Linked DNA regions of Homo sapiens: region 2 is linked to region 1. The links are contacts of gene promoters, found by promoter capture Hi-C in blood cells and fetal thymus (Javierre and others, 2016). All regions are on one chromosome and are shown on one strand. The core of a region is centred on a gene start or on the middle of the fragment in contact, and the rest is flanking DNA. Distances in the headings are between cores, read along the strand shown. Region 1 holds the start of PSMD6-AS1 (PSMD6 antisense RNA 1). Region 2 overlaps RPL14 (ribosomal protein L14).

What was found. Contacts are between HindIII fragments. The CHiCAGO score rates a contact against its expected background, and 5 or more counts as called.
Region 2: a contact is called between a fragment that was not itself captured here and the fragment with the promoter of PSMD6-AS1 in region 1, in 1 of 17 cell types (total CD4 T cells). The highest score is 6.9, in total CD4 T cells.

Annotation. Positions count from the first base shown.
Region 1 is chr3:64,006,865-64,013,574 of GRCh38, reverse strand. PSMD6-AS1 (PSMD6 antisense RNA 1) reads right to left here and starts at 1,611. Exons shown (of 2, transcript NR_189168.1): 1 at 1,533-1,611. PSMD6 (proteasome 26S subunit, non-ATPase 6) reads left to right here. Exons shown (of 8, transcript NM_014814.3): 6 at 1-136; 7 at 2,620-2,697; 8 at 2,811-3,024. The coding sequence ends at 2,907. It overlaps PSMD6-AS2 (PSMD6 antisense RNA 2), which reads right to left. Exons shown (of 3, transcript NR_038286.1): 2 at 3,822-3,878; 3 at 1,332-1,778. The HindIII fragment of the contact is 1,623 bases long and covers 885-2,507 here.
Region 2 is chr3:40,458,548-40,465,298 of GRCh38, reverse strand. RPL14 (ribosomal protein L14) reads right to left here. Exons shown (of 6, transcript NM_001034996.3): 3 at 6,563-6,657; 4 at 3,793-3,892; 5 at 3,638-3,691; 6 at 1-3,360. The coding sequence ends at 3,067. Among named protein-coding and RNA genes, the nearest start is that of RPL14, 4.6 kb to the right of the region's middle. RefSeq lists a silencer at 6,167-6,461. The HindIII fragment of the contact is 216 bases long and covers 3,330-3,545 here.

The DNA of each region.
Region 1 (6,710 bases), core at 362-2,861:
TTTTTGCCCCTCATTATCGATACTATGTAAGAGAAATGAGAATTCATGCATACAGTCAGCTGCTGGAATCATATAGGTCATTAACCCTTGGCTATATGGCAGAAGCGTTTGGTGTTGGTGTGGAATTCATTGATCAGTAAGTTTGAATAATGCCATGTTAATTGAAGTTTTAAAGTTGCCTTTTAAAATATGTGAACTTGTACAATTTTTTACTTGTTTACATTGGTTCCCTCAATCTTAACGGGGAGGGGAGAGGTTTTTTTCCTCAGTATTATCAAAACATTCGTATCCTGTTGCCTCTGCCTTCCTCATGTCATGTCTGCCCCTTGCATTAACAGATGGGAAGATGAGTTGTAGTGAGGCTAAGTGATTTGTTAAAGGTCATTAGACCAGTTGTTATCAAAAGTTGTCTTCTGTTACTTCTTTGTAGACCACACTGCAGCTACGGTAATGACTCTTAGATCTGATATTTACAGTTGGTCATATTCCCTCTGATAATTCCTTCCAGTTTTTAGGTTGCTGCTGCAATTCTGGTCAGATTGGTTGTTAAATGTGGGACTTTTAGTACTTGCATCAGTGATTAAACAAATAAATACTTAATGAGCCATTCATTACTATATGTTTGGTATTGTTTTACAGCTCCCTTTTCACACTTTCATTGTAGTAGTAGGGAAGAGATGGCAAGGAAGCAAATAAATATAAAACGTAATTTCACATATAGAAATGAACCTATGGAGATGAGAAAATGCTATCCTTACGTACGGCATGCTTAAGGAGGTGAGGTTTGCTCTGAGATTTGAATTGAGAGGAGTCAGCCATATGGAGTCCTTCTGCGTGCAGAAAAGGGAATAGAAAAGGCTAAGGCTTTGAGCCAGGAATAAGCTTGGATGTTGTAGGAACAGAAAATGTCAGGGTGGCTCCAGCATAGTTGGAGTGGTAGGAGATTTTGAGGATAATATATGGAGAGTTAGGTAGGTAATGATTTGTGTAGGGCCTTGTAGGTCATGGGATGGAGCTTGAGTTTTAAGTAAGTTTGATAGGGAGCCATTGGAAGATTTAGAGCCCAAGTTACATGGTCCTATGCAGTGTCTTTATATAAGAAATAGAGTAAGGTGGCAGAGAGGACCAGTTGTGCTGTTTAGTAGCTCTTAGAGGAGATGTTACCGTGGCGTGGACGAGGGTGGTGAGAGTAGAGTTGGGTAGGAGACATACTCAATATGGGATGTCCAGATGGCATCTAGATCAGTGGCTCCCACATGTAGGTGTTTTTAAATGTTGATGATGGTGTTTTCAATGGTCTGCAGTGGAAACTTTAAATGAAGATGCATTTCTTTTAAATAAGACCATTCTCTTTCTAGTATTTTTTAAATTTCGAACATCCATAAAATTGTAAAGAAAGAATTGTACAGTACATTTTAACATATTTGCTTGTTACAATCTATACATTTTATGTTTTTTAACCACTTCAAAGTAAGTTTCAGACACCAACACATTTTTTAAATGATCCCTACCATTTTTTAAATGATCCCTACCAAAATGGAAGGCTGGTATCCCAAGGTTTTGTTCCATTTCTCAATTCTAGTCTGTGAAATTGAAGTCTGATGACCACTCTTAAGAGGGCTGTTCATTAGGGTGCGGGCTGGGCATTATGAGTGTGTTTTTCATGAGTCAGTGGAAGGAGGGGCTTGTTGTGAGCAGTGCATGAGAAAAACGGCTTGGCTTTGCTTCTTTTTCCAGCTCTGTGGCCTTGGTCAGGTTACGTCTCTTCAGTATCGTAACTGTAATGTGGAGATAAAGCCTTCATTAGTTAGGGGCACACACCGCAGTATTCCTTAAGTCATCTTGATGACAAGTGAATGCAAGGCAGCTGGTACCTTTCAGGTAGTAGTTGAATTCAGGTAGTATTTGTTCAGTTTTTTTTTTTTCCCTTCATGTTCTAAGACCAGCTTGAGAGGCAAAGGTTGTACCACTGAGCTCTAGTTGTTGTTACCTAAAAAGGCCTTGTTTTAAATTTCTGTGATACCTAAGAATTTCAAATCTGGGTTGTCATGGATTCTTTATTCTTTTTTTCTCCCTTAAAAAGTTACATTTTAGATGAAATCCCCTTTTTTAAAATGGGCAAAGCAATAATTCTACATCATTTCTCCCCTTCCCTTCCACTTGTTTAGACTAAGATATGTTAGAGAGGGAAAGGGTCGTTGTTTTAGTAAATACTATTGCTGTTGACATGTTAATACTATTGCTGTTGACATGTTTACTGATGGGCTGTGTTCCATAATTTTGTTTTAGGTCTTTTGTTTGAAACAGTTTACTGTTTTTATCAGTTTTGGTCCCTAATTTTTCCTAACCTACAGTTTTTCTCTGAGTACATATGGTTTCATTGTTTGATCTACTTTCTATCTATCTGAATATGAACTTCTAGGATCATGTTTATTCTAGTAGATGATGACTTAAAGCCTGCAGTATAGGAGGGACAACGTCAACTACTGCATGTGCAATAACAAGCTTGAAGGGAAGCTAAATGTTTGTTACAAATTTAAGACAGTATTTTAATGCCGTTTGCATTTTTCTAAGAATTTTCTATAAAGCTAATTCTGTTATTTTTTGTCTCTAAATTAGGGAACTGTCCAGGTTTATTGCTGCCGGGAGACTACACTGCAAAATAGATAAAGTGAATGAAATAGTAGAAACCAACAGGTACTCTCATTTCTCAGAATAAGGGGCATTCCTAAATTTTAAAAGTAGGTCAACTATTGTCATGGAATAATGTGACTGGTAAATAATTCATTTTTTCTTGAATTTATTTATAGACCTGATAGCAAGAACTGGCAGTACCAAGAAACTATCAAGAAAGGAGATCTGCTACTAAACAGAGTTCAAAAACTTTCCAGAGTAATTAATATGTAAAGCCATGTAACTAACAAAGGATTTGCTTTAGAGATAATTATTTGGAATTTTTATAGCTTACTTCACAATGTGCCCAGGTCAGCTGTATAAAATAAATACTGCATTGTTGTTTCTTTCCATTTATTTTTTTCTTAAACACATAGGCCTTCTAGAATCGGGTCCACTTATGTTAAAATAATGTCACTTGAATTATTCATTAATGAAAATCTGGTTTATAGGGTAAGGTTGCAGCTGGGTTCAGCTAGGTTCAGCTCCTGACTGCCTCATCAGTAAAATACGTCAGTAAAATACGGATGTTGACACAGCCCATTATCGCTTACCTTTAAATCTCTTACCTGTAAGCTTCCCGATTTTAGAAAGAAGAGTAGTGGCCTAAAATTAAACAAACAGTGTCTCCCACTTTTAGTATACAAAAGATAGAAGATAAAGAAAATGTGTAATAAGCTTTCCCTCAGAAACAAGTAACCATATAAGGCAGGAAGTTACTCTTTTTTAGGAAGCTGACATAACCTGGATTACAGAATCTACCAAGGCTGATCTCAGTTTTCTAAAACCTTATATGTAAGTATTTATTAGCAAACTGAATCTTTTTTCCAAAAGTAGGACCATAGTAATAATAGCAGTGAGGAAAACAAAGTTGTTCCTCTGTTTGTTTGAAACAGTTTATTAGTTTTATCAGTTTTATTCAGTGTGTCAGATAGGAATAAGTGCTATAAGAAGTATAAAACCAGATAGACAGACAGATAGATAGATAGATAGATAGAGATACAGGGTATAGGCCGTCTTCTGAGGTGTTGTGGAAGGCTTCTATGGTAAGGTGACATTTAAGTGAAAAGGAGGGAGAGCCCATGAACGTATGGAGGGAAGAAAGACGAGGAAAGTCACTGGCAATTTTAAGTGCGGATTTGGCTTACCTTTTACGTCTCACTTACGGCATTCGGTGGCATGGATTGTACAGGCAGCTGGATTTGCTAAAAGATTGAAGAATGGGGTGAGGAGGATGAGGGGGAGAAAATTTGTCAGAGGAGATCCTAGGCTTTTTGGCTTAAGTGAAAGACAGCTAGTGACCTTAATGAGCAGTTTTGGTAGAGGTGAGTTCAGAAGAGAATGGGAAATGGCATTTTACTGTAAAAGGCAAGGGAAGGAAAGAAGAGTTTTGAGTTTTTTTGCTTTAAATAACATTTACTGATGGGAATGATTCCTGTTAACATATTAGGAATAACATATTCCTAATATGGAATTCCTAACAGGAATAACATACTCCTGTTAACATGATCTCATTTGATTGAAAATAATTTGATATAATTCAACATTTCTTCATGATAAAAAAACTCTTCAGTAGACTATGAATAATAGGTTGGGATATCAAAGCCCTATCACAAGGTAATTAATGGCAAAATATTAGAAGCATTATCTTAAAAGTGAAGACAGCAGCTCTCATCGCTGGAAGAAGAGCCATTGGTTGTATGCCAAGGAAAGCAATGTGGCTAGATCTCTGTTTTGAAAGGAGTTTCCTGTAGGCACTGTATTGTGGAGGGGAGGCTTTTAAAATGCTGACTATGCCTAATGTATTTGAGAATATCCACCTATGAATTTCTAAAAATGCTTATCTAGAAAACATTTCTTAAAGGAAAAAAACCTCAGCTTTTTGGTTTTCTACAGAAAACCAAAGCTAGTCAGGAATGCAAAGGTGGCTTCTGAATGCTACAGAGTTGCAGTTGTTCACCCACAGGCGGCAATTGACACACCCTAAATACTTTTCCAAGAAAAAAATTTATAGTTACCACGTAAAAGTTGACAGTTTAAAAACCACATATCTAGCTTCTCTGGAAAAAGGACAGGTGAAGCTAAATCTGGACTCACGCTCCAATAAGCTGAGCGACAAGCATAGCGTGTTTTCCAGTGTGCCCCAGTCCACCCAGTCTGTTCATATACACTGCCTGTCTGCCTGGCCCCTGCTGGCATTTGAGCTTGTTATCCCTGCACTACCCCCAATATTGTGCATGTGAGGTTGATGGTTAACAGCCTCCTGTGTTAATCAACTAAGACAGGGGTGTCCCATCTTTTGGCTTCCCTGGGCCACACTGGAAGAATTGTCTTGGGTGACACAAAATACGCTAAGGATAGCTGATGAGCTCAAAACAAAACAGCTCATAATGTTTTAAGAAAACTTACAAATGTGTGTTGGGCCACATTCAAAGCTGTTGTGGGCTCTGGGTTGGACAAGCTTGAGCTAGGAGAAACTATCCAAAGAATTCCTAACCTTTATCCTGTCTCTAGTAGCTTTAACTGGTACAGCTTGTTTTCTGAAAGTCTTAATTTTCTGCTTTTATTCAAGAAGGTTACTTCACAATATGAAAATAAGATTATGAAATGATGCTAAAACAGTTATACATAGTTCCTTTTTCATGTTGGTAAATGTTTTCTTTTGAAGTGGGAAACAATCTTATTTTTAACCCTGGTTTCAGTCAAAAGTAACTATCCTAGTGTGAAATGATATCGCCAGGATAAACTATCTTTTGTGATTATTTTTAAAGCAGAAATGCCAGTTTCTCTTACCTCAGTAAAAGTTGATTTTATAGCAAATCTATCGAGTAAGAGCTAAATATTTTAAAGCTATGTCAAATTATGGTAATCTATTTCCTGTATTAGAAATAACAGCTTTAGGTCAATTTTTAAGCTATTAAAAAACAGTGTCTCTTAGGACAGAAACAGTGTAAAAACCACTTTTGTTAAGCACCCAACTTTTACCTGCCCCAGATGGCTAGAAGGATGCCTACAACTTGATCACTAAGCATGCAATACTCAATACACTTAGGATTTTGTGACTGAACACATTTGGTCTTTTATAACCTGACCAAACATTAACTGATAAAAGGCTACTAAATCATTAGCAAATCATTTCTGTAATTTCATATTCTGAATTAGTCCTTGGTGCTGCTGTTAACCTAATGTTTTTAAGATGAACAGCTGACAGCTGAAATATCTGCCCCCATGATTATGGGGGAAAAAGCGTGGAGGGAACTATGATAATCCCTGACCTTCCCAATGCTACATAAACTTGTAGTTGCTGGTAACAAACCTGTGCCTCCACAATGGCAATGGGGGAGTGGGGTAAAATCCCCATCTGGATAACATGAAAAGCTCTGATAATCACTAGTTTTGGTTTCAAAGCTGTAGAGCCACAGATTTGCATTATGCTTGTGTTTCTGAAGGAATACAAAGGCTATCAGGAATTTGTAGCAATCTGATCCAGGCCATTTTAACCTTGACATACATGGTCAAAGGGTATAACCTTTTTTTTTTTTTTTTTTTTTTCCCCATTTAAAAATATCTTACAGTGGCATAACTTTCCCTGTACAAATTGGGTTTAAGAAACAAAAGGGACAATTTGCTAATCAATGATGAGCCTTTAATCCAACCATTATATATCCCCTTTCCATCCTTAGATCCCTTGAAGAGACCATTTAGTTAAGACTACCAACAGGTGACACCCTGACCTCCTTACCAACCTTGCCTTTTAGAGGTGACCAGAGACCTGTGCTTTTCCAAAGTACTGTTATACGTGTAATTAGTATAATATCAATGTGGGGAAACTCTACCTTTGGATTTTGAGGACTCTGCTTTTCTTGAAACCCTCTGGGTTAGAGACTGTTTATTCATATGCACCTCAGGAACTTGAGGCCAAGATGAAGTTCACTGTTTCCTAGTCCTTTGCTTGTTCTCCTGGCCATTATGTTTCCACCTTCATTCAAAATGCCTTCTCTTTGAAGCTGCTTATAACCCAGCAACACCATCAACTC
Region 2 (6,751 bases), core at 2,188-4,687, about 24 Mb after region 1:
AACATTTCTCCTTTGCTTACTACCCTCTTCCCCTCACTTTGACGATCTCAAGCAAAATTCTTTCCCTAGCTTCCATGTGCCCCTGCTAGTTTCCCACCCCTCATGACTCCTTTCCAACCTCTATTCGTCTCTTGATTGTTGTCATCCTACCCCTGGGGAATCAGTGACCACTTACATATTCATGAATCCCAAGTCTGTCCTGAAACCTCTCCTCCTTGTGTCATTATCACAGCTCTTACCAAGGGAACCAGTCACTGGACTACATATCATGATTAACTACTCTGAAGCGTACCACATAGATGAGGAAACTGGATTTTGACTATGTGCCTAAACTACATAGCTTTCAAGAGGCAGAGCCAGGATTTTAGTATAGATTGTCTGCAGTCTTTGCATATACACCCAGATAGTCTACATGAAAACTAACTCATTTTACCTAGATAAACTTTACCCTGCCTCATGTTCCCTCACAACCAATGAACCAGAGGTACAAACCAGAAACCCTGACACATTGTTTTCTCCCTTATTTCTGCAGTCCAATGCATGATCAAGACCACCTAAATGGCATTACCACTGTCACTTCCTTGGATTACTGCCAAACTTCATACTGCCAACCCGAGCATTCCCAGTCTTGATCCCATAAGATTCAGTCTTAACAGTTCAATGATCTAAATCTGAGATATCACGCCATTTTAAAAAACCCTCAGTAGCTTCCCGTGTTCCCCTACACGATCTAACCACTAACCTACTTCCTTGATGTGGTCCCGAGCCAGTCCTCTACACTATCAGTTCGTTTATTTCCTATCTCGTGTCATTCTTCCCCTTACACCACCTTCTTCTTATTTTAGGTATAGATGCCACTTTCTCTAGACAATTCTCTACCTCCCAGAGTAGAACAGGTAATCCGAAATCATCCATATTTTCCTTATTACACCATACCACTTGCCTATTATCAAGCAAATCAATGTGCTTTTTCCTTTACCCCAGTGACGCCTGAAGCTAGCTTTTGGTTAGGAAACAAATTTATTTAAAATGTATTCCTGGCCAGAAGCGGTGGCTCACGCCTGTAATCCCAGCACTTTGGGAGGCCAAGGCGGACAGATCACCTGAGGTCAGGAGTTCAAGACCAGTCTGGCTGACATGGCAAAACCCCATCTCTAATACAATATTAGAGGGGCATGGTGGTACACGCATTTAACCCCTGCTACTTGGGAGGCTGAGGCAGAACAACTTGAACCTGGGAGGTGGAGGTCGCAGTGAGCTGAGATCGTGCCACTACATTCCAGCCTGGGCAAGAGTAAGGCTCTGTCTCAAAAAAAAAAAAAAAAGTAATCCTGTTTCATGTACAGCTTTGTAGTATTTTTAAATCTATCCAGGATCTTTTACTGCCCCAAATTACCTGTATCTTGTGGTAGAGAGAAACAGAAGTCCAACCTACTATACACAGGATAAGTATCTCTTATCTGAAACACTTAGGACGAGATGTGTTCTGATGTTGGAGTTAAGTGCATATACATGACACTTTGGGGATGGGACCTAGGTCTATACAGGAAATTCATTTATGCTTCATATACATGTACCCTGAAGGTTAACTATTTCTTCCTCAGGGACACTGAATAGTGCTGTGTACCTGTATTTTGACCATAACCCACCATGCGGGTAGGCTAGGGATTTTTAAATTGTAGTGTCATAGCTCAGTTTCAGAGGTTAGAGCTTTTTGGATTAGAAATATGCTCAACCTGCAATTTTTATACTTGCCCTATTTTCCTAGTTTACTTTTTATAAGAAAATTTGCAGGCCGGGCACAGTGGCTCACACCTGTAATTCCAGCACTTTGGGAGGCCAAGGCGGGTGTATCACCTGAGGTCAGGAGCTCGAGACCAGCATGGCCAACATGGTGAAACCCCATCTCCACTAAAAATACAAAAACTAGCCAGACGTGGTGGCACACACCTATAGTCCCAACTACTCAGAAGGCTGAGCAGGAGAACCGCTTGAGCCCAGGAGGCAGAGGTTGCGCTGAGCCAAGATCGTGCCACTGCACTCCAGCCTGGGTGATAAGATCAAGACTCTGTCTCAAAAAAACAAAAAAAGGCCAAGTGCAGTGGCCCATGCCTATAATCCCCCGCTCTGGGAGGCCGAGACAGGCGGATCACGAGGTCAGGAGTTCAAAACCAGCCTGGCCAACATAGTGAAACCCAGTCTCTACAAAAAAAATTAGCTGGGCATGGTGGTGGGCGCCTGTAGTCCCAGCTACCTGGGAAGCCAAGGCAGGAGAATCACTTGAACCCGGAAGGTGGAGGGAGCTGAGATCGCACCACTGCACTCCAGCCTGGGCAACACAGCAAGACTCTGTCTCCAAAAAAAAAAAATAAATAAATAAAATAAATCTGCTAGACTCTTGAGCATCAAGAGGCTGTCACTTTACCTATTTATGGCAAACATATTTGTACAAGGAAAAAAGATGTTCTGAAGCCAAGGTGACCATAAGAAAAAAATGTCACTTGTGTCACTTGGTGTTCTAAGTTATCATGATTTCTCATGACATGATCAATTATGACTGCAATGATTTTGCACTACCTATCCAAGTATGGGCAGAGAGTGAGATTAAAGAACTGATTATTTAGGCCAGGCGCGGCGGCTCATGCCTGCAATCCTAGCACTTTGGGAGGCCGAGGCGGGCGGATCACGAGGTCAGGAGAGCGAGACCATCCTGGCTAACACGGTGAAACCCCGTCTCTACTAAAAATACAAAAAATTAGCCAGGCGCGGTGGCGGGCACCTGTAGTCCCAGCTGCTCAGGAGGCTGAGGCAGGAGAATGGCATGAACCCGGGAGGTGGAACTTACAGTGAGCCGAGATAGCGCCACTGCAGTCCGGCCTGAGCAACAGAACGAGACTCCATCTCAAAAAAAAAAAAAAAAAAAAAGGAACTGATTATTTAATGTTTATTATAATCCTACTATCAATCTGCCTCCTAACTCCAGCCTCAACAGGCTTTAAATCCAAAGGCTTAAATACATTTGTCAACAGGTCAAAAAGAACCTTTATTACTTTTTATGATTGCCACTTATGCTTTCTTGCCAGATGCCTTTGGAGCAGGTGCTTTCTGGGCTGGAGCTTTTTGACCCTTCTGAGCTTTTGGAGCAGGCGCTGCTTTCTGGCCTGTGGCTTTCTGGGCAGGAACCTTCTGGGCTGGAGCCTTTTTACTCGCGGCGGTGATCTTTTTTGCTGGAACTTTAGCAGCAGCAGCAGCAGCAGCAGCAGCAGCAGTACCCTTAGTACCAGGTGCTTTTTTGGGAGAAGCTTTCAGGAGAGCTGCCTTTTGAAGCTTCTTAACTTCATTCTTGATTATTCTGTTCCTCTGAAAATTATCAATGTAAGAAAGCACTTATTGTGTATACATACAATAAAATCCAATTTATGCTGGTTTTAGAAAGGGCATTAAGTAGTCTGTTTCCCTACAACTACATCTGAAGAAAGGTAACAATTCCATAGGGACATCATGAAATACAAATGAAGATAAATTCTCCTTTTTTACAGAAAGCTTCCAAGAAGCTGGCAGCCTGAAATGGGATTTGGCTACTGCTCCCTTATTATTTAAAGCTAAGTTACACAAAAATACAGATCTTAAATCTTACCATTTTCTTTGCCTTCATAACTTTAAAACGATCAAAATCTGTCATCTTGGCTTTCTGTTAAAAAAAAAACAACAAATAAAAATTATCCCTCTCACACTATCTTGAACCCTCCAAAAAAAGAAAGGACCAGAATTCAAATGACCCTAAGTTATTACCCTTTCTCTGGCTTCAATCTTCTTGGCCCATCGTGTGGCTGCCCATTTTGTATTGATGTCTGCCTTCTGCCAGGCTTGTCGGACATACTTCTGGTGGGCACTAGAACGAGCCAAGACCACAGATTAAGAAATCAGCTTTGAAGTCACTCATTATCAAAGACACTTTCTTTGTTCCTTGAAAAGCACTCTTCCTGTTACACAACACCTGGTACACTATGTATTTTACTTATTTTTGTGTTCAGTAAGCCAGAATAGGTTATTAACTTCAAGCATATTTTAATCAAAACTGTAATCCAGTCCCTTTTTTTTTTTGAGAGAGGATCTTGCTTGCCACCCAGGCTGGAATGCAATAGTATGATCATGGCTCACTGTAGCCTCAACCTTCTAGGCTCAAGCCATCCTCCTGCCTCAGCCTCCCAAGTAGCTGGGACTACAGGTGCATACCAGCACACCCAGCTAATTTTTATATTTTTTGTAGAGACAGGGTCTTGCTACGTTGCCCAGGCTGGTCTCCAACTCCTGGGCTCAAGCAACCCTCCACCTTGGCCTCCTGAAGTGCTGGGATTACAGGTATGAGCCACTGCACCCAGCCCAGCCCATTTTATGAATTTAAAAACTACCTCTTGACCAGGCGCAGTGGCTCACACCTGTAATCCCAGCACTTTGGGAGGTCAAGATGGGTGGATCACCTGAGGTCAGGAGTTCAAGACCAGGTTGGCCAACATAGTGAAACCCCATCTCTACTAAAAACACAAAAATTAGCTGGGCGTGGTTGCAGGTGCCTATAATCCCAGCTACTTGGGAGCCTGAGGTTGCAGTGAGTCAAGATTGCGTCACTGCACTCTAGCCTGGGTGACAAAGTGAGACTCCGTGTCAAAAGAAAAAAAAAACCCTCAAAAAAAACACAAAAAACCCACCTCTGACTATATATAATTCCACTCGGGCAGTGGACGTGTTGAAAACCATTCTTTTTTTTTTTCTTTTTTTGAGACAGGGTCTTGCTCTGTAACCCAGGATGGAGAATGCACTGGCGCAACGTTGGCTCACTGTGACCTCTGCTTCCTAGGTTCTAGCAATTCTTCTGTTCCATCCACCCAAATAGCTGGGGCTACAGGAGTACACTACCACACTGGGCTAATTTTTGGACTTTTAGTGGAGACGGGGTTGGCTAGGCTGGTCTCAAATTCCTGACCTCAAGTTATCTACCTGCCTTGGCCTCCCAGAGTGCTGAGATTACAGGTATGAGCCACTGCACACATCCGAGCCATTCATTCTCGTAACAAACAAGGTAATTAATATTAACTGTTAGGCTTTTTTTTAAAAAAAAATTTACAGTAACAATTTGTGGCCAAACATCCTAAAAATAAAATCCAGGGTGTCCAGGGATCCAAGGCAGAATTACAAGAGTACCTAGTGAAAAATCTAAGTTACCAAGTATTTTCTACTGCTTTGAACTTTGACAAGTATCCTCAAGCTTCACCCCTAATTGGTATGTCACAGTAGTAGCAGCATGGCTATGTTCACTCGAGGTTGTTCAAGTGGCATGTTTTCAACTACCAGTACTTCAAAATCCATTATGTGTTAATACACGTCCCACAGTGCCTGTAGTGCTCAGCATACAGTAAGTTTTTTTTTTTTTTTTTTTTTTGAAACGGAGTCTCGCTCTGTCACCCAGGCTGGAGTGCAGTGTTGCGATCTCGGCTCACTGCAAGCTCCGCCTCCCGGGCTCACGCCATTCTCCTGCCTCAGCCTCTGAAGTAGCTGGGACTACAGGTGTCCGCCACCATGCCCGGAATATTTTTTTTTTGTATTTTTAGTAGAGACGGGGTTTCACCGTGTTAGCCAGGACGGTCTCCATCTCCTGACCTCGTGATCCACCCGCCTCGGCCTTCCAAAGTGCTGGGATTATAGGCGTGAGCCACCGCGCCCGGCCAACATACAGCAAGTTTTTGACTATTTTTTAAAGCATGCAAAATTACATGTTCCACTGCAACCATCATTGTGGGTTGAATTAACTGTATAGCAACACACTAAAGTGTTTTAATTTTCATGTCAAAAAAGAACTGCTATTCACTGCCTCACTTAAATGTAAGCTAGGGATAAAACCTCTTATATTAAATACTGTGTAACTGACACACACTGAGAGCTTATCTAATGATAGCTAGTAGCAATAAACACAAGACTTAGTATTGTTGTTTACTTTAAGCTAAAAATTTGGCAGAAACCAGAAGAAAAGAAGATGGCAAATCTAAACAAAGGCAAAGCCCTAAACTACCAGGATAGAAAAGTGACCTCAAGGCATTTATTTTATTTATTTATTTTTGAGACAGGGTCTCACTCTGTCATCCAGGCTGGAGTGCAGTGGCATGATCACGGCTCTCTGCAGCCTCGACCTCGCTAAAACGATCCTCCCAACTCAGCACCCCCAAGGCCCCCCTACCTGGGATTACAGGCGCGTGCCACCATGCCCAACGAATTTTTTTTTTATTTTTTGTAGAGATGGGGGTTTTCGCCATGTTGCCCATGCTGGTCTTGAAACTTGGGCTCAAGAGACCCTCCCACCGTGGCCTCCCAAAGTACTGGGATTACAGGCATGAGCTATCACGCGCAGGCAAGACATTTTAAAAGTAAATAATCCCTGTCTACTTCTATGATGCAAATCCCTCTTCAGGATGGCTCTGAATCTTCCGTATTGTTTACTCCAAAACAAACTTTTACTAGCATAAACAAATCTGGGGATGGGAGGGAGGAGTGATTAGTGGACAGTTACCTGTGCGGAAACTTGAGGATGAAATCAGTGAGCTGCATGCACTTGAAAGGCATGGCCTGTCTCCTCACTTGAGTGCAAGGTCCATCGACCAAAGCCTAGAACACAAACATCAAGAACTTCAGTGCAAAATCTAACAGCAATTAAAATGGTCAGATGGTTCTGTAACATTACTTATCCGTTCAGGGCCAT